7 separate regions of the Homo sapiens genome follow, and all the other regions are linked to region 7. The links are contacts of gene promoters, found by promoter capture Hi-C in blood cells and fetal thymus (Javierre and others, 2016). All regions are on one chromosome and are shown on one strand. The core of a region is centred on a gene start or on the middle of the fragment in contact, and the rest is flanking DNA. Distances in the headings are between cores, read along the strand shown.

Region 1 (3,391 bases), core at 142-2,641, 1.3 Mb after region 7:
ATTATTTGCCCACCTTCCTCTGCTGACTTAATCTTTACAAAGATACTAACTCCCTAACGGCCAAATACTAGTTGGAAAGTGCATATTTTAAACGGCAAGGATACAGAGAGAGAGAGAGAAAGAGAGAGAAATCGATCAACACTCTTTTCTTGCTGCTTGATGCTATTCCCCACATCAAAGGGAAAAAAAGTAGAAGGCTCAACAAACATACCTAAGAACACTGGTTCTATAAAAAACTTAATTGGCTGCAAGATTGTCAACAGTTAATAGGTAAATTGTTATATCATGGTATGCATTTTAACTCATAATGGTATTTAGGTTAAAATATCTTAAATAACAGAATAGTTCATATCCTCTTCAAAAATAATTAACTGCAATGTTGACTACTTTGACCCCAGTTTTAGGAATTGAAAGGTATTCAGCAAATACTATTAACACAACTAATTAGAATTCAGTCTCTACACAAAAAGGGAGGTGAGATTATTACTTTCGTTCTTGTGGCAGGTATACTTTAAGTTGGAAGCTACAGTTAAACGTTCATCAAGTTCTATAAACACTTAATTCTCTGTTAGCATTTTATACGCAATATACATTTGAGCATATAATTTTAAAATCAGGTACAAATTATTTGATGAACACTTCTCTGTAACAGAAAAAGCAATTTCAGCTAGTTTTCACAAACTATCCAAATAATTCTTCCCAAAGAACCTAGATTATGAGAACCTACAAAACTCACTATCATAGTGAATTCTAACTTTCACAGACTGTATTCAGAAACTTGACATACGCCCAAGCAAATATCACCTGCACTGAAGGGTCAACATCTCCTTTGAAGTAACACACTTTACTAAAATAACTCTAAACTATGGCTAACTACAGGACAGCCTACTCCAACTGCTAAAAAAACTCTAGTATGGCAGGAAAAAAACTTTGTCCACAGTAGATAAATCCACTGAATTTCTTGCTTGCTTAAATTCAGTATGTGTAATTTAATTATTAAGACATCGTTGCTGAACGATGAAGTTTTAACCAGAAATCCTTGTAAAGGTTTCCAAACAAGGCAAATCAGTGAGCATAAACCCAACCGTTTACCGGGACTCAGAATTCCCGAAATGGAGGCCTAGGGAAGATAATTGCGAAGATTTGGCCAAGTGACCCCACTATCAGCCAAGCTGTCAGTCACCCTGCATTAGCAAGTGCTATTAACACTTAAAAGAGTAGTTTTCTGACATTTACTTACATAGTAATGGTTGCCTAACGCTGTATTCTGCCACTTTTTAATGTTATTGAACGTGAAATTTTCTATTTTCTACTAAACTATCCCACTGTGAATCTTAAATATATAGTACTTAGCACATACTGACCTGAGTTTTTCTCCATCAAATGCCAACTGAGAAAATGTACGGTACCAAGTAAAAACGCATGGGGACAAGTTCAAATAATCTTCCCTTTGTTTATGAGCCATGTATTAAACAGCTGTTAACACCCGTCAAGAGGTTTTCACTAAAATAAAAGTATCCGCCTCTGACACTCAAACGTTTTGGTCAATTGTAACAAAATTAAACCCACTCATCTCTTCACACTGAACGGGGGCGGGGAGAAGGGACGCTAAGGTATGAAAAGGGAAAATGTAAAACTGGGCAAATTTTCTATTTTAAGATTTCCAAATAGTGCCTTTAAAATTTATAAATAGTGCCTGCACTTTTTCTCCAAAAGCAGCCGCTTCTCAAAGAGGATAAACCATTCCCGGAAATGGGCAAAAGAACACACTACAGGGTGCGGACCGCTACAGGCAAGGGCGGACAAGACTGCCAGGAGCAAACGCGTCCAGGAAAGAAGCCGCCCACCGGAAAGTCCCAACTAGAGTTCCCTTCCTTTTCCCCTCGGCGTGCGGCTCCCTGGGTAGGGGGAGGAGAAAGCGCCCGACATGCGCACGCGGCCAGACGTCACTGCGTTCTCTCCCCGCCCCCCAGGGGAGCCGTCTGACGTCACGGGGCGGAGGCTGCCGAAGGCGCCGCCGTTGACCCTGCTGTTACCAGGCGCGCGCACAGCCAATCAGCACCCCGCGCCGGCGCCGGCCGGCCTTTGAACTCGGCACGGCAACTTCCTGCTGTTTGGCGAGTACACAGTGCAATGCAGTATGTCTGTCAGCGCTGCGGCACAAAGGAACAGCCATTTTGTGACTGAGCTGGACCTGCATCAAGATGCCAGGGGCTCAAAGAGCTGCTGCGTGCCCTATCGAACTGCCTTTTATGTCGGCACCAGAGTTCCCCAGAAGAGCAGAGAGGGGGAAGGAAATAGGCTTTGGTATTTCAGATTTCTATTAGTTTAGATTCAGTCTTCTCCAAAATCCCGTTTTTTAATGTATTATCAGCGTCATAAAATGGCTGCCAGTTAAACTGCCTGTTCTAGTACACAAGTAACTGCATTATGCCATTTCTAATCATCCCCAGCCTTTTAGAATATCTGGTAAAGCGCCCCTGAAAATTGTAGGATTTACCCGCACCTCAGGTTATAAAAATAAATCTGGCTCAAAGGCAGACGATTTGGAGATAAATTTAATAAACTCGTTCAATTCTTAAGATAAATTGCTAACGTGGTGCCGTGGAGAACACACTGAACTCTTTGTGTGCACACAGTCCCGTTTTCATTCTTTGATGTTACTTAAGTTATCCCCAAGCTGCAAATTATTCAGATAAAAAGTATGGTATACTTCTCGTATGTCCATCATTAGAACTTTGTTTTAAATACTTAGAAATTTTACAAATATCAATCAAATGTTTTTAAAATCGCGTTTTTTAAAGTTTTTAATTTTCAAAAATCGTGATAAAGTATAACAGACTTTAGCATTAACTTCAAATTAAAATACAAACTTATATAACCACTATTAACTACTGCACTATTTCCAAAAACAGGGTATTACCAGATTTACCTAAACTTGCACTCATTCTTTCCAGATACTAAAGTAATTCTCAGACCAAAGTTTACTTGACCTGCAAACTCATTTCCTCTTCTGTGGCTCAGGCTGCAAAGGTGATTTTCGTAGTATTCCCTAAACACTATACTTTGGGCAATAAAAACTCTGATGGCAGAAGGAACCAAGTACTAATTACAGGGACAGTTCAGCTCAGTAGAAGTAATATTAATCTACCACATTAAAACACCACTAACATTCTACAGCTGCACATTTTAAAAGGAAGTGATGTCATAATTATGTACATGTATTAAGATATGAAATTTAGGGTAACTAATTTAAAAGTAACTATCTTCTTTTCAAAGAGTCTTAAATATTTTTGGACATCCATCAGGTATATGATTCAAAGTATACTTGACAAACCAATTTAAAAGTACAGTCAGTACATGCTTCATGTACAGCTGTAACCTCCACTAC
Region 2 (3,400 bases), core at 87-2,586, 1.4 Mb after region 7:
CAAATAGTGGATCACCTGAGGTCAGGAGTTCGAGACCAGCCTGACCAACATAATGAAACCCCATCTCTACTAAAAAATATAAAAATTAGCCAGGCGTGGTATGGTGGTGCCAGCTACTTGGGAGGCTGAGGCAGGAGAACTGCATGAACCCGGCAGGTGGAGGCTACAGTGAGTCAAGAATGCACCACTGCACTCTAGCCCAGACAACAAGAGCGAAACTCCATTTCAAAAAAACAAAAAACAGGTGGAGGTATAAAAAGCTGAATAGAAAATGCATCTATTTGTTTAAAAAAAGAGAAAGGAGTGACATTTATATTAATGGGAAGGGTGGCTCCATCTTGACTCACTGCAACTTCCACCTCCCTGGTTCAAGAGATTTTCCTGCCTCAGCCTCCCAAGTACCTGGGATTACAGGAGTGTGCCACCATGCCCGGCTAATTTTTTGTGTGTTTTTAGTAGAGATGGGGTTTCACCATGTTGGCTAGGCTGGTCTCAAACTCGTGACGTCAGGCAACCCACACACCTTGGCCTCCCAAAGTTCTGGAATTACAGGCGTGAGCCACTGTGCCCGGCCTAAACATTTGTTTTAGAGAGACAGTGTCTCCCTGTGTTGCCCAGGCTGATTTCAGATTCCTGGGCTCAAATAATCCTCCCGCCTTGCCCTCCCAAAGTCCTGGGATTACAGGTATTTGCCACCCTGCCTGGCCGAGATATATTTTCTAAGCCTCAGTTTCTTCACCCAAAAAGTAGGAAAGAAGGTGGAATTGAAGAGAATAATGTTATTAATGATACCATAAGGTTGTTTTTAACAGTGGCTTTCAATAAATGTCGCTTCATAACATGGTGGATTCTGGAGCCAGACAGCCTGGGCTTAAATCACAGCTAAACCCCCTTTACTAGTTTTGTGACTTTGGGAAAGTTAATTAATCTCTGCACCTTGGTTCATTCATTTGTAAAATGGGCATTTTACTAGTACCTATATCACAGATTTTTATGAGTCACAAATTAATATATGTGAAATGCTTAGAACAGTCCCTGGTACTACTTTTCAACTGAATAAGGCCTTAAACGAAACTTTTATTCTATTTATATACAAATATATATATAAAATATACATAACATTTATATATAAATAACATATATATAACATATATGTGTGTGTGTGTTTGTGTGTGTGTGTGTGTATATATATATATTTTTTTTTATTTTGAGACAGAGTCTCGCTCTGTTGCCCAGGCTGGAGTGCAATGGCACAATCTCGGCTCACTGCAACCTCCGCCTCCTGGGTTCAAGTGATTCTCCTGCCTCAGTCTCCTGAGTAGCTGGGATTACAGGTGCCTGCCACCATGCCCAGCTAGTTTTTTGTATTTTTAGTAGAAACGGGGTTTCATTATTTTGGTCATGCTGGTCTCAAACTCCTGACCTCAGGTGATCCACCCATCCTGGCCTCCCTAAGTGCTGGGATTACAGGTATGAGCCACCGTGCCCGGCCTATTTATATATAATTTTTGAGACAGAGTCTCGCTCTGTCACCCAGGCTGGAGTCAAGTGGCGCGATCTCGGCTCACTGCAAACTCCACTTCCTGGGTTCAAATGATTCTTCCACCTCAGCCTCCTGAGTAGTTGGGGCTACAGGTGAACACCACCACGCCTGGCTAATTTTTGTATTTTTAGTAGAGACGAGGTTTCACCATGTTGGCCAGGCTGGTCTTGAACTGCTGACCTCAAGTGATTTTTATTTTAAATGATAGGGAACATAGTCCAGAGAAAGACATGCTTTAAAAAAGACTGTTGATCAGTAAGACAGCCAGGAACAAAACCCAATCTCCCAAATCCCAGTCTAGAATATTTTCCACTGTTTACTTCAGGCAAAAATACATTCCACATTGTGGTATAAAATTAGAAAAAAATGAAGAAAAGCCTATTTTGGATCAAATAAAAGGATACTGGGTTCAAATTTAGTTGTGTGGTCAAAGCCAAATTTCATAAACTCTCCAATCCTGCTCTTCCCTGGGAAAAAGATGAGGATAAAAATATGTACCTCGTAGTGTTGTCGTGGTAAGTAAGTTTATATATGTGAAATGCCTAACAAATAGCATTTCTCCATTAATGGAAATAATAATAATGCTAATTAACAGTCAATAGGTGATAGTATAGTTAGAATCAAGAATCCCCCATCTGTGGATAGACAGTTTTATTCTTCTCTTTCAGGGCTTGCAAATTAACTTGATAAATCATGATGTGGAGAATTATATTTATATACTTTATATATAATAATAACTATACAGACGCAGTTGGTAACAATTATTTTAAAACATATTGGAAGTATAAGCATAAATTCTAGTATCAGGGGTAGGGGTGAGCTGGTCTTATGAAATGTGACAATGAACTATCATGGTGAATAAGATTGGTTTCTGAATTGGGTAATAATATTTCTGATCAAAAGTAGATGTGTGGCCGGGCGCGGTGGCTCATGCTGTAATCCCAGCACTTTGGGAGGCTGAGGCAGGTGGATCACCTGAGGTCAGGAGTTTGAGACCAGCCTGGCCAACGTGGTGAAACCCCGACTCTACTAAAAATAGAAAAAATTAACCAGGCATGGTGGCGAGTGCCTGTAATCCCAGCTACTCAGGAGACTGAGGCAGGAGAATCGCTTGAAACCGGGAGGTGGAGGTTGCAGTGAGCCAAGATAGCACTATTGCACCCTAGCCCGGGCAACAACAGCGAAACTCCACCTCAAAGAAAAAAAAAGGAAAGAAATCAGTTTGGTACTTTCTCATAAAGTTAACCATAATCTTACTATAGTAGTTATCTTTTCCTGTATAGCAAATCGCTCCCAAATTTAGTGGCTTAAAATAGCAATAATTTTCTTCTTCTTCCTCTTTTTTTAATATCTCATGGTTTCTACAGGTCAGAATTGAGACAGTTAAGACCAACAAAGCTTACAGAGTAAAAAAAATTAAAATTAAAAAAAAAATTTTAAATAAATAAATCAAGACAGGGCACAGCAGAGGGTAGCTTGACTTTGCTGTACCATGTCTGGATCACAGCTGGAAGACTCTGAAGGCTGAGAAAAAAATCATCTGAGGCTTGTTCATTCACATGTCTAGTAGTTGATGTTGGTGTGGGCTGGGGGCTATCGTCTGGAATATCTACACATGGCTTTTCCATGAACTTCCTCACAACATGGTCCCTGGGATGAAAGGGCAAGCCTCCCAGGAGAGAAGAGGGAGGAGGGAGAACAGGATAGAAGGAGAGGGAGAGAGAGGGGGAGAGAGAGAGAGAGAGAGAGATCCTTGCCTTCAGGGGGATACAGATGTTGTAAGGGTACCCGTTTTTATACCTTTACAACATCTACAACATGGTAAGCAATGCTGTTACTTTAACAAGTGAAGTTAAC
Region 3 (3,466 bases), core at 3-2,502, 1.2 Mb after region 7:
GACCAGAGGTTACAAACTGGCAAGCCAAACCTGACCCACAGGAGTTTTGTTAACAGAACTCCATAGCAGCTGCCCCCTTTACATTAGGCATGAGCTCTCTGGTTAACCACAGTCCTGACCACTCCCCGTCATTTGCAAGAATGAGGCTACGTGTCAATCGCCATTTATCATTAAAACTTTAGGACGGGCGCGGTGACTCACGCCTGTAATCCCAGCACTTTGGGAGGCCGAGGCAGGAAGATCACCTGAGGTCAGGAGTTTTGAGACCAGCCTGGCCAACATGGTGAAACCCCATCTCTACTTACAATACAAAAATGAGCCTGGCGTGGTGGCAGGTGCCTGTAATCCCAGCTACTTGGGAGGTTGAAGCAGGAGAATTGCTTGAACCTGGGAGGCAGAGATTGCAGCGAGCCAGGATTGTGCCATTGCACTCCAGCCTCGCGGACAAGAGCGAGACTTCATCTCAAAAACAAACAAACAAACAACAACAACAAAAATGTCATAGTCCCCTTCATTTACTTCCATTATGTACAAATTTGCAGTTGCTGACTTAAACTATCCTCGCTGACAGATTAAGCGAAGACTTACATATTCTATTTCCATTTAATCCACTCGTAAACCAAACACATTTCAGATGATTTTATTCCAGCTGGCATGATAAGTATAGCTAAAATAAATAAATAACCCTCAACCGAAACCCCACTTCATACTTTCACTTCTCCCTCTTCTGATGGATTATCTGAATGCCTAGGAGATGAAAGCTCAATTCCATGCTCCTCTTTCAGCCTGGGCACTTTGTTTTCCTTCTTTACCCGAGGCTTCCGCTTCTTTAATTTGGCCTGGAAAAGGAGAGAAAATGATGATTAAAATACAAATCAAGACACTCAAAAGCATAACCAAACAACATGATGACTCTTTAAAGCAGTAGCAGCCATATAATTCAAACAAGAAAATTCCAAAGAAATCAAAAGAGTGCAACTCATTTTACCTCACAAGACCAAACCAAAACAAATAAAAACCTATAGGCCTTATACATGGCCTATACCACATTAAAATGTCCATATTCCTTTTTCGTTTTTTTTTCCGAGATGGAGTCTTGCACTGTCACCCAGGCTGGAGTGTAGAGGTGCCATCTTGCCTCACTGCAACCTCTGCCTCCCGGGTTCAAGCGATTCTCCTGCCTCAGCCTCTCGAGTAGCTAAGTGGGACTACAAGCACATGCCACCACCACTGGCTAATTTTTTGTGTGTCTTTAGTAGAAACAGGGTTTCGCCATGTTGGTCAGGCTGGTCTCGAACTCCTGACTTCAGGTGATCCACCCACCTCAGCCTCCCAAAGTGCTGGGATTACAGGTGTGAGCCACCTTGCCAGCCAAAATATCCATATTCCTTAAACCTACTGATTCCACATCTTTGGAATCCATCCTAAAGACACAATTTTTTTTAAAAAAGGAAAATCACTCTGTATACAAAAGTACAAATAAAGATAATATATTAAAGACATAATAGTAACATTAAAAAACCTGAAAGCAAGTTACATATAATAAGGAAAAGGTTAAAATACTGTTTATCTGCCTAATCAGATATGATCTGTAACATGATCTAACCTCTGCCTTTCCAGAGCCTAACACATAATATATTGCATACTCAACATATTATATGAAGAATGAGACTTATGACCCTATTACTTGAAAAAAATGAGGTGTGGTATTATGGGTTTTTTTCCTCAAATTTGCTTTGCTTATAATAATACAGGGAAATCAATATAAATGACATAGCTGCAAGAGCACTTAAAGAACATGCACACATGGGCTGCTAGTACAGGGTGTAACTTGTATTTCTTAGCTGGGATTCCATCTTTCTGGGCCTGAACTGAAATTATAAATTGGGGAAACAAAAGGAGATAAAGCTCAGCTGAGTTCACTGAGAATTTAGTTGGTATTTCACACAGCAAGTAAGGTCTAGTTTCTGAATTAACTGTGCATTACAACTGTCCATTTTATCTCTGGGATCCACTATTACAAGAACCACAGAGACAGACAGAACAACAGGCAAACCCACAGGTATTCAATGCAGTAACTGCAACTATGTTCCAAAATTGAGAAAGTAGGATAAAGAAACAGTAACAGTATGTGTGGAATAGTGGGACTGGGGAGCAGAGGATGAATTTGAAGCAACATTTCAGAAGGATGGGTTTGTAAGAAAGCTGCCAAGATGCCGTGGTCTTAAATGAATTTTTTTTTTTTTTTTTTTTTTTTTTTTTTTTTTGAGACGGAGTCTCGCTCTGTTGCCCAGGCCGGAGTGCAGTGGCCCGAACTCGGCTCACTGCAAGCTCCGCCTCCCGGGTTCACACCATTCTCCTGCCTCAGCCTCCTAAGTAGCTGGGATTACAGGCGTGTGCCACCACGCCCGGCTAATTTTTTTGTATTTTTAGTAGAGACGGGGTTTCACCATATTAGCCAGGATGGTCTCAATCTCCTGACCTTGTGATCCGCCCGCCTCAGCCTCCCAAAGTGCTGGGATTACAGGCATGAGCCACTGCGCCAGGCCTAAATGAACATTTCTATTATTACCAAGCAAAGCATCATTACTGGAACCTCAAAAACAAAATATGCCCATGAGAAGGTGACATTCTGTGCAGTGCTCAGAGAGGGCCTCTCTCTTCCTACCTAATTCTGCAGGGTAGGAGCCTCAGGCCCCTGAAAAACAACCAGCTGGCAGCGTACTCACCTCTTCCCCACCTGTCACAGCCCCCTTCTTCTCCAGACCCTTTCTGAGCAGCTTCAACAAGTAATCCGCTCGGGTCTGTAGCTGCTTCCCCTGAGGCTTTTTATCTGTCTCCACCGGCAGAATCTTCAACAAGAAAGGAAGAGAAGCACCCGCCACCACCCACATCCTGGTTAGTGGATCAGGATAAACAGAGACAACAAAAACTGAGCACAGTCCTTTCCCTCCCCAACCACCCAAAATATAGATAAAGCCTCAGATCCTATCTCATGTCCATGGCTCCCAGTCACTGAAAATCCCTCACGAGCCGTTCTCATTTTACAAAATGGGATGGAGAAATCCAGCTCTCCCAATGGCTCCTACCTGTGCTGTTAACAGGGTAGAACAACTCAGGTAGGAGGGGCTTGTGGCTTCATCTGCTAGAGCATCCCAGCCGTCGTGGATTTCCTCCTTCCAGGAGCAGGGAATCCCTGGAGCTAGGTTAAAGCTTCGTTTTAGATTGAAAATGCTTCTTAGAGCATTGCCGGAGAGCACTGAGCTACGCCAGGACATGATCTGTTCCTTGCTACAACAACTGGGTCTCTTGCCAGACTGAATCTGGTCTCAGTGCTTAAGGCAGGGTGCTGTCACCCTCCTAAAACCAGATGGGATGAGCACTGTTGAACTGCCAGGAGCACAACATGGAGCAAATCCTACCAAAATTTGAGCCAGTCAGCCTTCCCTGCTTATAGCTCCAACCA
Region 4 (3,911 bases), core at 499-2,998, 1.3 Mb after region 7:
CAGCTGAGGAAACAAGGAGCAAGGAAAGGAGGAATGGGAATTAGTTGATGACCGATGTCTTTAATTATTCCATTCCTCTTATCCTTAATGAACGAGAGCCTTGGCTCTGAATAGATTAATGCCCCAAGCCCCTCAAGAAGTAAATGTTTAGACTACAGAAGTAGCCAGAATACTAGTCTAACTAGGATTTCTACACTCTAAAGGCAGACAGCAGAGCATTCTGTAGTAACAGGCACAGGCATCAAGAGTTTTTAAAGCTCTTCAGAAAGCTAAGTCTGTTCTATCTGTTTAAAAAAAAAAAAAAGTAGTGGCTCAGGCTCCAGAAATTAGCATTCTCTGTGAAACACTTCTACTTCAGGTTGTCTCCACTGCTTCCTTTAGCTCTACACATTATTACAGTTTTATTCACACCAAAACTTTTCTCTCCCACTTCTCTCAAATCCCATGGCATCTGATGATTTGATATGCACAAACTACAATGTTGTCATACCTTCTATTTCATCCTAAGTAGCTCTTCTATATGTGCCCCCCAAACAAAATACTTCATAATGCCAAATCCAAGCTCGACACTGATTGTAAAATGTTGCTGTTAGCGAGAGCAAGAACATTAAGCCACACTGTATCAGAAGTCCAACAAATTTGAGACATGGCAAATATATTTTTCAGGACTTAGTCACCAAAAGAGTACAGAGATCAGAACCTTCTTATATTAATTCTATTGCCCAACTCTCCCCTACTCCTGCCTTACTGCTCTTCCACGCCCAAGGATTTGGTATCTGGAAGCTACCAGGAGAACCACTCTGTTGTCAACCCAGAACAGGGGAGATAAATAAGCACATATTTATTTTTCTGGAGTGACAACAAAACACCATCTTTTATATGAGAGATTTCTCATTTTCTTCTCAAGGCAAAAGAATTGCACTATAAATTGTTTCTGAAACAGAATACATTAAGCGAGAGAGACTTTCCCCTTGATGCAGAGCCCAAGTTGCTCAAATAACAAAGCCATGCATAGTATACCTCAGACCCATCTGCATTGAAGTGGTCCAGTGCCTGTTTTCGGATTTCTCCCTTGATGGAACCATCCAGACGCTGTAAAAATAAACCACAAGAAAACTGTAAGATAGGAAGATCAGCTACACTCAGAATAGAACAGCAGACTTGGAACCTTTATCACCTGAACACCCACTGAGTAAAAATAACTGCAAAGCACTGGCAAAGCGCTATGAAGAAGCTGTGCTTAAGAAGCACACCCTACCCTACTCGACCTGAGCTCTCCAGTTACAGACTCAAGGTTACAAGCTTCTGATTCAAAGGGCTGTCCAGGTTTAGCCAAGGATCAGAATGGCTGCCAGGACCTAAAAGGAGAAAGACGAAAACCCAACCTGTGCTTGGAGGCTGGGTTTACTTCTGTTTCTGTAGGTACTGCAGAGATTAGGAAATAGGACCACGGGTCACCCAATAATAAGCTCCTGCAGAAAAATGATGCTTCTTAGCTAATGTGGCTAAAACTATCACTTAAAGTGTCACACAAACCAAAAATTTATTTATATAATAATTTTGTTTGAAAAACATTTTGCTGAATCATTGAAAATGTTAAAATTGATCATATATCCCAGCTTTGCCAAAAATTACACTCTGAAATCATAGTAAAGTGTTCAAGCAGCTAAACTACATGAGAATTCAAGAAAGCCCCTGGCATTTATTAGCATACACAATTCCTTTATTAGAACATATGTCAGTTCTACATGCAATACAATGTCACCATAGAGAAACCATTGACACATAAAATACTAAAGAATTATCACCTGCATGCTGTACATTTTATAAAGCATTTCTTACTCTTTAAAATCATTTTTGCATTTCATCCCCTCACAATCACCACTTGAGATGAACAAAATACTTCATTTTACAGAAGGCAAAACTAACCTGAAAGGTGACTTGGCTGGCAGCAGACTCTGTGGAAGGGCCTACATACCCAGAACTCTGCCCACCAGACCTAACTCAAGTCAACTGACAGGTGAGGAGTCCCTTACTTCTTTCTCACTGACTACTCTACTCAGAGCCTTAAACCGAAGACGTATTCAATGGGAGATTCAGAGCCTTTACTTGAAATCAGAAAACCTAATGCCGCCTTTTAATATTCCCATTAGTAGAGGGCATTAATTATCTAAAAGTCACTGACCAAGCTTATCTATTCCCTAGAGAGAAAAACGATGCATTCTTGATTTACTTGGTATCACGGGATTTCCTAGGAATGAAAGCTCATAGGGATTCGATTCACTGACAGAGAAGTGACTTTTTGCAATAGGCTGTTTCTTGATAACAAGCACAGCCTTAAGCTATATTCTAAGACAGCAACTGAAAGACCATATAAGATATTATGGATATAACAATGCCTTTCAGGGTATTTTGAAAGATAATCAATCTGATAGTCTCAAAGGTGGGCCTTCTTAGGAGATAATCATTGGTCCAAGTTTCTTCAATCCCAACATAATTATGTGAGTTGGTAGAAGAGTTCATCCATTCAAAGTTTTAAAAAAAATGTAATAAATCTTAAAAATCAAAGCACTATAAACATGCCAAGAGACAAGGTAAATTGCGTATATGTCTATGTGTCTATAAATAGATCAGAGAATAAGTTTCTACTAGATTATATACACCTAGAAAAATGTTACTATGCGGAAGAAATTTTCCCCATAGGAGATAACTGTGTGAAGACAGTAACTCCAGTTAAGGAACTCCACAGAAAATAGGGGAAGCCATCATCACTTACTTCAGGGAGTAGCAAGGTTTTAAGTAGCAGTGTTCTGCTATGTTCCCAGCCTCACAGCCAGGGTCAACTTTTGGGGGGAATGTCTGATACTGCCCTCTCCTTCTAGGATTTGGGCTCCTGGAATTGAGCTCACACTTACTTCCTCTCTACTTTCACCATACACATGCAATAAGATGCCATCTGACATCCTTTTTTTATCTTGCCCCGTTTGACTTTCTCTAATCCTCCCCACCCACCTTCAAAAAAAGAATCGTCTCCTCATGACCACTTTCATATGGTAGCCTAAAGGCATGCAAGTAAAAATTAAGACCCTCCTGGAATCTTTTTTTTTTTTTTTTTTTTTTGAGACGGAGTCTCGCTCTGTCGCCCAGGCTGGAGTGCAGTGGCGGGATCTCGGCTCACTGCAAGCTCCGCCTCCCGGGTTCACGCCATTCTCCTGCCTCAGCCTCCCAAGTAGCTGGGACTACAGGCGCCCGCCACTACGCCCGGCTAATTTTTTGTATTTTTAGTAGAGACGGGGTTTCACCGTTTTAGCCGGGATGGTCTTGATCTCCTGACCTCGTGATCCGCCCGCCTCGGCCTCCCAAAGTGCTGGGATTACAGGCGTGAGCCACCGCGCCCGGCCCCCTGGAATCTTAACCTTAACTTCTTTGAAACAAGAAAACTCTTACTTCCTACTTTAACAAGCAAAGCATACAACCCAGTGTAGGAAGGTTGGGGAGGGGAGGCGGAGAGAGAGATTGATTCCCCCCACAGCAATTACTGAAATCACCTTACCTGGAAAGGATAGTGTTTAATAGTTAGGTATTCAGCCAGGATATCCAACATTCTCACCATCTGAGAGAAGATAAGCACTCGATTCCCCCTTTCTCGAAGTCTTGTCAACAGTTTGTCTAATAAAATCAACTTCCCACTGCTCCTTATGAGGGACTGAAGATTTAAAAGACATTCCAATAATTATGTTGAAACACAAATTTTAATCTTCCCTAATCTCTACAAATCCATATTTTAAAAATCATCTTAAAGCTTTCTGAAGCCCTTAGCAACCTGCTTGACCAGCAATTCCCGAAATGTTCTTTTTCCCAGTATCTGTTGATACTATACTTTACTTTCCAAATCATTCTTAGTTACCTTT
Region 5 (3,969 bases), core at 743-3,242, 1.4 Mb after region 7:
AACCTCGAATTCCCAGCCTGTAGCGGTTCTCCCCACTCAGCCTCCTGAGTGGCTAGGACTACAGGTGTGTGCCACCATGCCTGCCTAATTTTTAATTTTTGTAGATCTTGCTATATTGTCCAGGCTGGTCTCAAAATCCTGGGCTCAAGTAGTTGGAGAGGGCCAGAACAAAACGCTCCTTAATGGCAACAGATATATTTTGTTTTGTTTTTGTTTTTTGAGACAGAGTCTTTCGCTATCCCCCAGGCTGGAGTGCAGTGGCAGGATCTTGGTTCACTGTAACTTCTGCCTCCCAGGCTCAAGTGATTCTCGTGCCTCAGCCTCCCCAGTATTTGGGATTACAGGCGTGTGCCGTGACTAATTTTTGTATTTTTAGTGGAGACGGGGGTTTTGCCATGTTGCCCGGGCTGGTCTCAAACTCCTGACCTCAAGTGATCTGCCTGTCTCTGGCTCCCAGAGTGCTGGGATTACAGGCATGAGGCACCATGCCCAGCCGACATATTTTGTAAACAGGGAGAAAAATAGGTGGTTCTTAAAATTTCAGTAAAATGTTCACATTCTTTCTTATATAACAACAGAGGACCACTGAGTGCCCTCACCTTGAAGACCCCAGGACACCTGGATACACAGGATTTCTGTATGGCTTCTTTATTTTATTTTTATTTTTTGAGATGGAGTCGCTCTCTGTCACCCAGGCTGGAGTGCAGTGCTGTGATCTCGGCTCACTGCAACCTCTGCCTCTCGGGTTCGAGTGATTCTCCTGCCTCAGCCTCCCAAATAGCTGGGACCACAGGCGTGTGCCACCACGCCTGGCTAACTTTTGTATTTTTAGTAGAGACGGGGTTTCACAAAGTTGGCTGGGCTGGTCTGGAACTGCTGACCTCAAGTGGTCTGCCTGCCTCTGCCTCCCAAAGTGCTGGGATTACAGGTGTGAGCCACCACGCCCGGCCTCTGCCTGGCTTCTTATAGATGGTTTCTCTTGGTGTATGTTTCCTAGGCTTTTTGACTTTGTGGACTAGAAAGCTCTGGTCTCCAAGTCCCTACAAACTTCTGGATCTTCTACAGATTAAACATTTTAACAGTCTTCATAAAGTGCATTTGAAATCTAAGGTAAACATTCATTACCTGTACACCAACCACCTCAAAGGTTTTATGAAATAAGATGGAATATACATAAAATGCATGAGACAGGTGTACTTTGCTTTATGTGTTTGTGACACGTTCACACAAGTAAATTTTTAAATTTTTGGTGAGGAGATAAATTTGGCAATTTTTTTTTTTTGAGACAGAGTCTCACTCTGTCACCCAGGCTAGAGTGCAGTGGCGTGATCTCTGCTCGCCGCAATCTCTGCCTCCCCGGTTTAAGCAGTTCTCCTGCCTCAGCCTCCTGAGTAGCTGGGATTACAGGTGCATGGCACCAAGCCCAGCTAATTTTTTTTTTTGTATTTTTAGTACAGACAGGGTTTCATCATGTTGGCCAGGCTGGTCTGGAACTCCTGACCTCAGGTGATCCACCTGCCTTGGCCTCCCAAAGTGTTGGGCTTACAGGCATGCCCCACTGCTCCCCGCCAGGCAATTTTTTTTTTACCAAGAGTAAATTCAAAGGAGCCTGAGCATTAGTTTTAACAGGTAAGTCGGGTAGAAGATCAGGGAGCATGCCATAAGTGGCATGTACACTATATTATAAAGAGGAGTGGTTTTAAACCTTTTTTTTGAGACAGCGTCTCCCTCTGTCATCCAGGTTGGAGTGCAGTGCAACCTCCACCTCCCAGGCTCAAGCAATCCTCCCACCTCAGCCTCCAGAGTAGCTGGCACTACAGGTCATGCTACCATGCCCGGCTAATTTTTTGTAGAGAAGGGGTTTCACCACGTTGCCCAGGCTGGTCTCAAACTCCTGACCTCAAGTCATCTGCCTGCCTCAGCCTCCCAAAGTGATGGGATTACAGCAGTGATCCACCAGGCCCAGCAGTTTTAAACTTGAACTTACATCTGTGCTTGTTAAAGCACAGATTCCTAAGCTCCATCCCCAGAGATTCTGATTCAGTAGGGCTGGGGCCAGGCCTAATATATATATATATATATTTTTTAGACAGAATCTTGCTCTATTGCCCAGGCTGGAGTGCAGTGGCACGATCTCAGTTCACTGCAACATTTGTCTCCCGGGCTCAAGAAATTCTCCTGCCTCAGCCTCCCAATTAACTGGGATTACAGGCGTCTGCCACCACGCGTGGCTAATTTTTGTATTTTTGGTAGAGACAGGGTTTCACCATATTGGCCAGGCTGGCCTCGAACTCCTGACCTTAGGTAATCCGTCTGCCTTGGCCTCCCAAAGTGCTGGGATTACAGGTGTGAGCCACTGCGCCTGGCGAGAATTTGAGTTTCTAACAAGCTCCTGGGGGATGTGAATGCTGCTGGCTCAGGGATGGCACTTGGAGAACCATCAGAGCAATGAATTATGCCCTGACTTACAGTAGCCTGTGTCCTGCTTCCTGTCTTTTTCTGGAGAGGTAAAAATTGAGGTAGCCTCCCTGTTACTTGTTCCCCCTTTGAAAGAAAGCAGGAGAGAAGGATTTCTTTTCTGCTTTAGTCTCTATGCCTCATGTCTTTTTTGTTGTTGTTAAAAAAAAAAAATAGAGACGGAGTCTCCCCATGTTGCCCAGGCTGGTCTTGAACTCCTGGGCTCAGGAGATCCTCCTGTCTCTGCCTCCCAAGGTGTTGGAATTACAGGCGTGAGCCACCGTGCCCGGCAGTTTGCCTCATGTTTTATCCAGCATGACAAAAATTGGGCAGCGGTCAGTGTAAGAGGCAATGGTGAGTCCCCTTTCACCTATGGATCTGTGTCTGGTTCCTCTTCATATTCTGGAAGCCCTAATAAATGTCCACTATGGCCAGGTGAGAGATCTCAGACTGCCACAGGCCTGAGTGGTTGTACTTTGGAGATGTCTTTGGCTAGCCTGTGTAGGTATGTGCGTTTGCGACCTGTGATGGAGGCTGTCATCGCCCTGCCAGGGTTGTGGTTCCTGTCTCCTCTCCTTCTGGCTTTCTACCTGGCTCCCTCTAATCCAGTTTCCAAGTGGAAGCCAGAGCCCACCTAAAACACAGGATAGGAGGTCTGTGTGCTACATACATCTTTAGTTGCTCTTGCTTCTTAGAGAATAGAATCTCTTCTTTAGCAGGGTACCTGAGGTCTTTACCTCTGGTCTCTGTTCACTTCGTCTTATCTCTGGTTCAGCTTTTTTGGTTTTCCACATCCTGAACTTAATGCCTATAATGTCCTCATGTCATTTCTTTGCCTATTTAATTTCCTTTTGTCTTTCTTAGTCCACAGATAAGTCTTTACATAAATCTCTGTGTGATTCTGGCACATATAGTTTTATTGAATGATTGAACAAATGCATGAATGAATAAATAAGTATACAGGAAATTGATTTTTAAAAAGCTGTAGTAAAATACATATAACATACAATTGGCCATCTTAACAATTTTTTTAACCTTTTTTTGTTTTTTTTTGAGATGGAGTTTTGCTCTTGTTGCCCAGGTAGGAGTGCAATGGCATGATCTCGGCTCACTGCAACCTCTGCCTCCTTGGTGCAAGTGATTATATTGCCTCAGCCTCCCGAGTAACTGGGATTACAGCCATGCGCCACCACGCCCGGCTAGTTTTGTATTTTTAGTAGAGACGGGATTTCTCCATGTTGGTCAGGCTGGTCTGAAACTCCCCACCTCAGGTGATCCACCTGCCTTGGCCTCTCAAAATGCTGGGATTACCGGCATGAGCCACCTCGCTTGGCATCTTTTTTTTTTTTTTTTAGTCTTGCCTCTGCCTCTTGGGTTCAACTGATACTCCTGCTTCAGCCACCTGAGTAGCTGGGATTACAGGTGTGCACCACCACGCCCAGCTAATTTTTGTATTTTTAGTAGAGACAGGGTTTCACCATGTTGTCCAGACTGGTCTTGAACTCCTGGCCT
Region 6 (3,724 bases), core at 572-3,071, 1.4 Mb after region 7:
TCAAATTAAGGGAAAAAAAAAAGAAAAAACCCCAAACCAAACCAAACTAAAATAAACCCTAAAATATTGACTCGGGCAAAAGAGAGCTACTCAACACGGGAACGGAACAAAAGAAACAACTTCACAAAGTCACACTGACTGTGTAACAGGTTTAAAAAATGAATGGGTCCTGAAGCAACGATAACTCATTTTTGACAAATGGATGGACAAATTATAGCTTACCAGGAATGACCAGAAAAAAGAATTAACTTATTTGAGAAGCTAAGCATGATCAGAAAACGTATCATCTCTTTGTAGATCAGTTCTTAACAGTAGAATAAGTAATCCCTCTTCCTTTGTCCTCAAATTACTTTCGTTCAGGTTAGTCACTTCTGTGATTTACAAGTTAAGCGGTAGTTTATTGCTGTCTTGCTTTTCTGACAGAAGAAATAAATAACAATGCCCCGGGTTTTTGCAACGTAAACATCCAGGATATATCCTACGGGAGTCCATGGCTCTGAAATTAATCTCCTTACCAAGCAAAATTTACTGGGAGCCCTCCTTGAAATAACTGAATAAAAAAGAAATATTGGTCTCCCGGAAGTAGAGCTCTTGACACATTAAATATCTCTTCAGTCCATTTCCAAAGATGAAAGATACAGCCCTTCGCTGGGTGCCTTCTCTGATGGTTTGCTCGGTGGTAGATGTCTGTTTGCTGTAATCTGCTGTCAGGCATACCCGTCCACTCCTCCTGAACCCTGCTCTGATGGCAGGCATGACTGTGGCCATCAGGATGGCTTCTCATGAAATATAGAGGACAGAGATGTTCCAGTCTTATCATGGCCTTGGCAAATTGATTTTTCGTTCCCGGATTGAGCCATTTTCCCCATGCTTCTCAGCCATATTCAGCCACATTTATTGCACCTCCACCCCAACCCCCTTTTAACATATCCCTTTTTTCCCTAACGTAAATGCTCCGAAATTCCAGTCACCACTTCTTAGTAATTTCTGACGGACGTTTCATGTTTTTCAGAATGCGGAGCTGTGATATTTGAGTACTAAACAAATGTTTTGCATGAGTTTAGACACCTAGGGACAGTGTTAGCCGGTAATTTTCAAGTTTGGATGTTGAAGGGATGGCGACTTATCACAGGGAAAATTAATTACGTGCAATGAAAAGGTTGTAGTGTAGAACTGTCATCCACTTTGAAGCTTCAAGGGAACGCGATTTAATGTGATAGGAACTGTGACTGTAAAACAAAAATATGTGCAGCTGCAGTTGGTGCCCACATTTTTGGTTTTGATGCTCATTTACCAGTACTAAGAAACTGAAATCTGAAAATGCCTTCTTTCAGATCACCTGGTGGCTCTAACTTTTGCAAAAGTCGTGGAAAGCCTAATGTATAATAATATGTAATGGCTGCCAAGCTAGGTCGGCGCAGAGACCGGGTTGGGTAGTGTCACTCCCACCTTTCCTCTGCAGGGAAGTGGCATTTTACAGCCCAGACAGCTCTGCAGGGTTTCTAATGGCCTACAGCAGCCCCATCGCCATACCTGGAGATAATCTTCCTTTAACTAAGACGTACTGCAGAATAGAGACTTCAAGAAAATATACAGAGAATGCCAGCGGAAAGATACAGGGGCATTTGCCCTCTCAAATACAATTCTGTTAAGTGGCTAAACTCTGATGTTTAAAATATAATAAAATAATTTTGAAGAAAGCAAAGTGTTTAAATGTATGTAAAAAAGCAAGGAGAGTTGGAGGACTGGCTATCTAATAAAGATGATAAAATTGCATAGTTCATAAAATTATCTAAGAACAGGATCTGAGTGCAAGAAGGCAGGGTTTGGAAATTTGGCCTTTGAGGTAAGGCCGCCAGATAAAATACATCAGTCAAATTTGAATTTTTGATAAACTGAATAATTTTTTTAGTGTAAGTAATATTTGGGACATACATTTAAAAAGATAGTTTGTGGTTTGTGATTCAAATTTAACTGGGCAACTTGGACTTTTATTTACTAAATCTAGCAATCCTAGTTTAAGGGTCTACACACTTACAGAGGGCATATGTAATTAGGTTTCTACACCTTCATCAGAATGGCAAACAACACCAGAAAGCCTCCAGTTCAAGGTGCCCAGCCAAGATGCGAATGTGACAAACACAGCATACAGGTGTGTTGCCCCTAATAAGTAACTTCAGGGATGGCCTCCAAGTGCAGCCCATCCAAATATTATGAGCACTTACTATTAACTTGTTCATTCATCCATTCATGCAACAATTATTTATTGAGTGCCTGCTGCGTGCCAGGCATAAATTTTGGGAAAAGTAAGATAAACAAAGAAAAAATCCCTGTCTCTGAAGGGTTCTTATTTTTGTCTGGAGGACTAACATGTAAAATGATAATTGCCATAAATGACAAGTGATCACATAGTTTGATTAGAGAGAGAGCAGAAACATCAAGTTAAGCTTATCTAAGATTGATGGCAGGGGCGGGGGACAGAGAAACTTCAAAGAGGAAGTGACTTCGATGAGCTGGTCTCAAAGGAGTCTAAGCTGGCAGAGTTGGGAAGGACCTCAGTAAAGAGAACGGCATGAATAAAGGCTAGAAGTGGGTGAGGACGTTGTGGATATTTAAAAAACAAAACAAGACAAAAGCAACAAATTACAAAAACATAGTGAAAAGTCAGCTATAGCAGGAGCCACCGGAGGAAGGTTTGCTGGAGATGTCTGATAATATAGGCTGGGGTGACATTGTAAAAGTGAGTCTATAGAGCTCAAAGTCTCCTGTGCACAAGCAGACTAGGATAAGGGTGATGGTGAAAGAGATCAGTGATGGGAGACTTTTTCCATTAACTCTTTTTTTTTTTTTTGAGACGGAGTTTCGCTGTTGTTGCCCAGGCTGGAGTGCAATGGCGCGATCTCAGCTCACTGCAACCTCTGCCTCCCAGAGTCAAGCGATTCTCCTGCCTCAGCCTCCCTAGTAGCTGGGATCACAGGCATGTGCCACCACGCCCGGCTAATTTTGTATTTTTAGTAGAGATGGGGTTTCTCCATCTTGGTCAGGCTGGTCTCAAACTCCCGACCTCAGGTGATCCGCCCACCTCGGCCTCCCAAAGTGCTGGGATTATAGGCATGAGCCACCGCGCCTGGCCATCCATCCATTAACTCTTAAAAAATGTAAAGAGATTAAAACTGACTTAAAAAAATGTGTATGTGCACGTGTATCACTTTGCAATGGATCCTAGGAACATAAAAATGAATACGGTATCAATCTTACCTTCTAGATAGTCTAGGTTTCCCAGGGAAACCTTCCACACATGGGATAAGTGCTGTAATATAACAAGTAAACACCGTGAAAAGTCTGGGAGTATGAAAGAAGGAGAAACTCCTGGAAGGAACAGAGAGGGCCAGTCAGGGCTTCCCAAAGGAAGAGATGCTAGATTTTTTTTTTAATTAAAAAATTTAATATTTATGCAAATCGTTAGACATTTTCCCAACAATACAAAACAGTATACAGTGAAAAGAAAATCTTTCCTCACCCAGACCCTTGACTGCCCATCAGAGGCATCCTTCCCATTAATATAAATATCACTCTGGCCAGGCGTGGTGGCTCACGCCTGTAATCCTAGCACTATGGGAGGCCGAGGCTGCCAGATCACGAGGTCAGGAGATCGAGACCATCCTAGCTAACATGGTGAAACCCCATCTCTACTAAAAGTACAAAAAAATTAGCTGGGCATGGC
Region 7 (3,607 bases), core at 948-3,447:
GTTTACATGCACTTAAAGAAATTGTCAGTTGTTATAAATCCTTTATGCAAAAGTCAAATAAGGAACTTGATTCCTCGCCAGATCATCACATTGCAGTACTCTACAATTTCCAGAAGTAGTACTTCTGGAAATAGGTTTAAGGAAAAATATATATTCGTGTGTGAGCACAGGTTTACACAAACACAAAGTCCTTTCCAGGTGACAAGAGACCGCTAATCATCTTGCAGCTGTAAGAAATCAAGCTGAAATTGATTTCAAAGCCCACTCAGCTGAGAAACTCACCTCTGCAGGAGGAGACCATAGTAAAGCACACCAATAATAGGAAATTAGCTGTTCCTTCCATGTATAACACAGAGAGAATATATATGCAATTTTATTAATTGGCCCTGTTTGGATATATCAGGCCTTTCAAAATATGTTAAGAGACATAATAAATTTTATCTTTTAACATATTTTGAAAGGCCTTTCAAAATATGTTAAGACACATAATAAATTTTATCTTTTAAAGCTACATCTACTAGTCACAGATAGGTCACAGCTTGACCACACAAGTGCAATGAAAACAGTGCTCACTTCATTCCTGAGGACTACTTTAACTCCATTAATCCCCAGGAGATAGGATCTATGAATATAAATTTGAATTCTTATATTAAATCTGCCGGATTTACACTCTCCATCTTAGAGACAGCATGGAATAGTGAAAAAGTACGAGTTCTGCACTCAGAAATAGCCACATGCAATTTCTAAATTCACCACTGACCTTGTACAAATTACTGGACTCCTCTCTGCCTCAGTTCCTTATCTGCACAGGGGAATAGTATCTACTTTGTAGATTTCATAGACAAGACAAAGTGCCTAGCATGGTGCTTGGCACAGAGCTAATTCTTAATAATCTTATTTTAAGCATGGTTTTGACAATTTTTATTGCTTTGGAATGACTGATCAGGCTAATGACAGAGACTCTTCAAAGATTTACATTCTCCCTGCATTTAAATACTTATAACCAGCGATTACACAGGTGCTGCTGAGGCAAAGCGCAGCACCATTGGTCTCGTTCTAAACACCCACCTGTGAGGAATAAGTGCCTTAAGATTCCCCTTTGTATTAATATCAACACCTGTGCTACCCAACAGCACACCAGCCCGGCTCTCAGAGGTCTGCCCGTTAACAGGTGTACAATAAATATTTGTTGAATTGAAATGCTACTGACTCAAGCAAAAAATGAATGCTAATGTAAATTATAATCCATACAAATCCTTCAATAAGTGGTGTCTGAATTCTGTGCGTCCTGAAGCAAGTGTTCTAACGTCTCACGGTTCACTGAGAAGCTGCTTGGTACCTTAAGGGTTCGCACCCTTGTACCTTCCAGACCAAGCTCTTGTAAGCATCTAGAGGAGGCTGAAACCCTCAGTCAGCATCGCACAGAAGTTCATTCAGACTAGAGAAAACCTCTTTTATGGCAACCCAATCATTTAAAAAAAGCCGTCAGCACATTTGCTTAACAAATGGACAGTGCAGGAGGGAACTAATTGCGGAAACTAATCGCCACTCAAGTTCACCACCAACATCACTGTCTTTATTTTTAACTTACTTATCTTCAGTGGGATTGAGACACTGTTTGTTACCTACGCAATTATCCCAAGGATTTCTGCTCCGGTGTCGTTGAGCAAATGTCAGCGCAAAGAATTAAAGTTGAACCTCCGGGTCTCTACGAAGAGAGCGTATTAAAGCCCACCCAGCTGAGGAACTGACCTCTGTGGAAGGAGTCCTGGATGTGGCGGTGACTACCTCCGTAGCGCCCCGGGGAGACTGAATGTGTGGCCTTTAAAATGCAAAGAAATTCTGGGCCAGGCTGCCCTCCCCTAGTGCGCCTTCCAGTACGCCACGCCTGGATTTCTGCCTCCAGTCCTCAGGACACCTTTCTGATCTCTGAACCACAAGCAGCTCCGGGGTAGTAGCGCCACTGAATTCTCATCCTGGACCCTCCAGCTCCCCAACTCCCAGCTTCGGTTGAGAGAAGACGCCCACCCCCAGGCGGCGACCGTGCTGCCCGGCCCACGCGCGCTGCCAGGTGAACCCGGCACCGCCCTCACCTGTGCGAGGCCGCGTTCGGGGGCTGCAAAGCTGGGCAGGCGCGCGCCCCTCACCTGCACCGGACCCGCTGCAGTCGCCACTCGGAAGCGCAGGGAGCAACCCTGACGCGGCGGGGGCGGGGGCATCACCGAGGGCCCCCGGACTTCCTCGGGCCCCCCCACCGCCCTTGCGAGCCCCGCCTAAAGGGGAGGAGGCGGCCGCGCGTCACCTTTGAGCAGCCTCCGACCCAAGCGCCCGCGCTGCCGCCGGGAGCTCGGCCGGGTGTTGCAAGGAGGCGCTATGCTTGGTGCTGGGCACTGGCTGGGCGTAGAGAAGGCGATTACTTGTAACTCATTCGTTTGGGTTGGCTCACAGGAAAAGGAAGGTGTGTCCAAAAAGTCCGAAGTGAGGAAATAGGACGAGGATGGCTTGCAAACTCGTAAAGTCTTAATAAGCTGTCTTCGCTGATACTCAGAAGGGTTCTCTTCGCTCCTGTAGGTCCCTAATAGATTCATGGGAAGACAGCAGCCTCCCTTTGTAACGCCCTGACCCTGGGAAGAGGTACCCGAGCCAGACAGCCTATTAACCTATGCCACGTGTGCGCGACTGTGGGTGGAAGATGCCCGCCCAGATCCACAGAACTGTTTCCTGAGCCTTGGTGCCTCATCTATGAGATAAGGCCGGCGTACTGCTCAGCAAGCCGTCCCGAGTACTCGGCAGAGAACCCTAAAGACCCTCCCGTGCGATTGTTGGCACTCAGCGAATATTTGCTATTTATTTCCCCTTTCCCTTACTTTCTTTTTCTACTTTTTTTTACGCCGCTTTCCTGCTGTAATTGTCTTATTGCACTTTGTTTGCTCGGTTTCACTGCCTGGTCAGTTTCTTTTCCCGTCTATGAACGAGCCTAAGTCTGTGCGCTCTAGGAATTTGGGTGGATTAGGAAAAGAAATGTATGATCCATGCCTTCTGGGAGATCAGGGACTCATCTCTGGGAAATAGCATTTTTAAATTAGATACAAGAGAGTTACAGAAAATAACCTTAAAACGGGAATGGGACCTCTGGGAATAGGCGAGCTCTGAAATGAAGCGTTTAGTTGGTGTCACTGGTGATTAAGAGCTCCGGCTTTGGAGTCAGACCTCAAATCAAATTCTGCCTGGGCAACTAATTGTGTAAATGGACGAGTTCACTTAACCTCTCTAAATTTTAACTTCAACAAACTGGTTGTTTAAATAGCTTAAAATAGCTTAAATAGCTTAAAATAATAGCTATCTCATACTTTCTGAGAAATTAATTAGGTAATTCACATAAAATCCTCATTACAGTGTCCTGGGCCATGGTAACCACTTAATAAAAGTTAGCTATTAACAATACTAAGGTAGGAAATGGGAGGAAGGGGCATAAAAATTTAGAAAACATGAGGACGTGATAGAAAACAGCTGCCACTGTCATGCAATTCCGACTTACAACAATAGCTACCACTGAGGAACACAACTTCGCACCAGTTTCTGTGATTGGCATGTAACACGTGATCAT

What was found. The method cuts DNA at HindIII sites, captures the fragments that hold promoters and counts their contacts. A CHiCAGO score of 5 or more calls a contact.
Region 1: a fragment that was not itself captured here is called in contact with the fragment with the promoter of MCTP2 in region 7 in 2 of 17 cell types (total B cells and neutrophils); the score reaches 6.7 in total B cells.
Region 2: a contact is called between a fragment that was not itself captured here and the fragment with the promoter of MCTP2 in region 7, in 2 of 17 cell types (naive CD8 T cells and erythroblasts). The highest score is 8.0, in naive CD8 T cells.
Region 3: a contact is called between a fragment that was not itself captured here and the fragment with the promoter of MCTP2 in region 7, in 3 of 17 cell types (megakaryocytes, M0 macrophages and naive CD8 T cells). The highest score is 7.6, in megakaryocytes.
Region 4: a fragment that was not itself captured here is called in contact with the fragment with the promoter of MCTP2 in region 7 in 1 of 17 cell types (erythroblasts); the score reaches 6.2 in erythroblasts.
Region 5: a fragment that was not itself captured here is called in contact with the fragment with the promoter of MCTP2 in region 7 in 1 of 17 cell types (neutrophils); the score reaches 5.4 in neutrophils.
Region 6: a fragment that was not itself captured here is called in contact with the fragment with the promoter of MCTP2 in region 7 in 2 of 17 cell types (total B cells and monocytes); the score reaches 7.5 in total B cells.

What each region holds. Positions count from the first base shown.
Region 1 is chr15:92,902,982-92,906,372 of GRCh38, reverse strand. All of the region lies in intron 2 of CHD2 (chromodomain helicase DNA binding protein 2), which reads right to left. It overlaps MIR3175 (microRNA 3175), which reads right to left and starts at 1,974; the gene lies at 1,898-1,974. RefSeq lists enhancers at 1,681-1,920, 2,201-2,380, 1,242-2,441 and a silencer at 2,081-2,130. The HindIII fragment of the contact is 5,562 bases long and covers 1-3,391 here.
Region 2 is chr15:92,833,886-92,837,285 of GRCh38, reverse strand. No RefSeq gene overlaps it. Among named protein-coding and RNA genes, the nearest start is that of CHASERR, 47 kb to the left of the region's middle. The HindIII fragment of the contact is 3,215 bases long and covers 1-2,943 here.
Region 3 is chr15:92,997,885-93,001,350 of GRCh38, reverse strand. It overlaps CHD2 (chromodomain helicase DNA binding protein 2), which reads right to left. Exons shown (of 39, transcript NM_001271.4): 31 at 2,730-2,852; 32 at 711-839. Among named protein-coding and RNA genes, the nearest start is that of RGMA, 90 kb to the left of the region's middle. The HindIII fragment of the contact is 3,926 bases long and covers 1-3,215 here.
Region 4 is chr15:92,972,060-92,975,970 of GRCh38, reverse strand. It overlaps CHD2 (chromodomain helicase DNA binding protein 2), which reads right to left. Exons shown (of 39, transcript NM_001271.4): 19 at 3,554-3,706; 20 at 1,021-1,092. Among named protein-coding and RNA genes, the nearest start is that of MIR3175, 70 kb to the right of the region's middle. The HindIII fragment of the contact is 887 bases long and covers 1,305-2,191 here.
Region 5 is chr15:92,791,125-92,795,093 of GRCh38, reverse strand. No RefSeq gene overlaps it. Among named protein-coding and RNA genes, the nearest start is that of CHASERR, 90 kb to the left of the region's middle. The HindIII fragment of the contact is 6,180 bases long and covers 1-3,969 here.
Region 6 is chr15:92,816,497-92,820,220 of GRCh38, reverse strand. No RefSeq gene overlaps it. Among named protein-coding and RNA genes, the nearest start is that of CHASERR, 64 kb to the left of the region's middle. The HindIII fragment of the contact is 1,256 bases long and covers 1,194-2,449 here.
Region 7 is chr15:94,230,151-94,233,757 of GRCh38, reverse strand. MCTP2 (multiple C2 and transmembrane domain containing 2) reads right to left here and starts at 2,197. Exons shown (of 23, transcript NM_001385001.1): 1 at 2,094-2,197. RefSeq lists a silencer at 2,138-2,267. The HindIII fragment of the contact is 9,020 bases long and covers 1-3,607 here.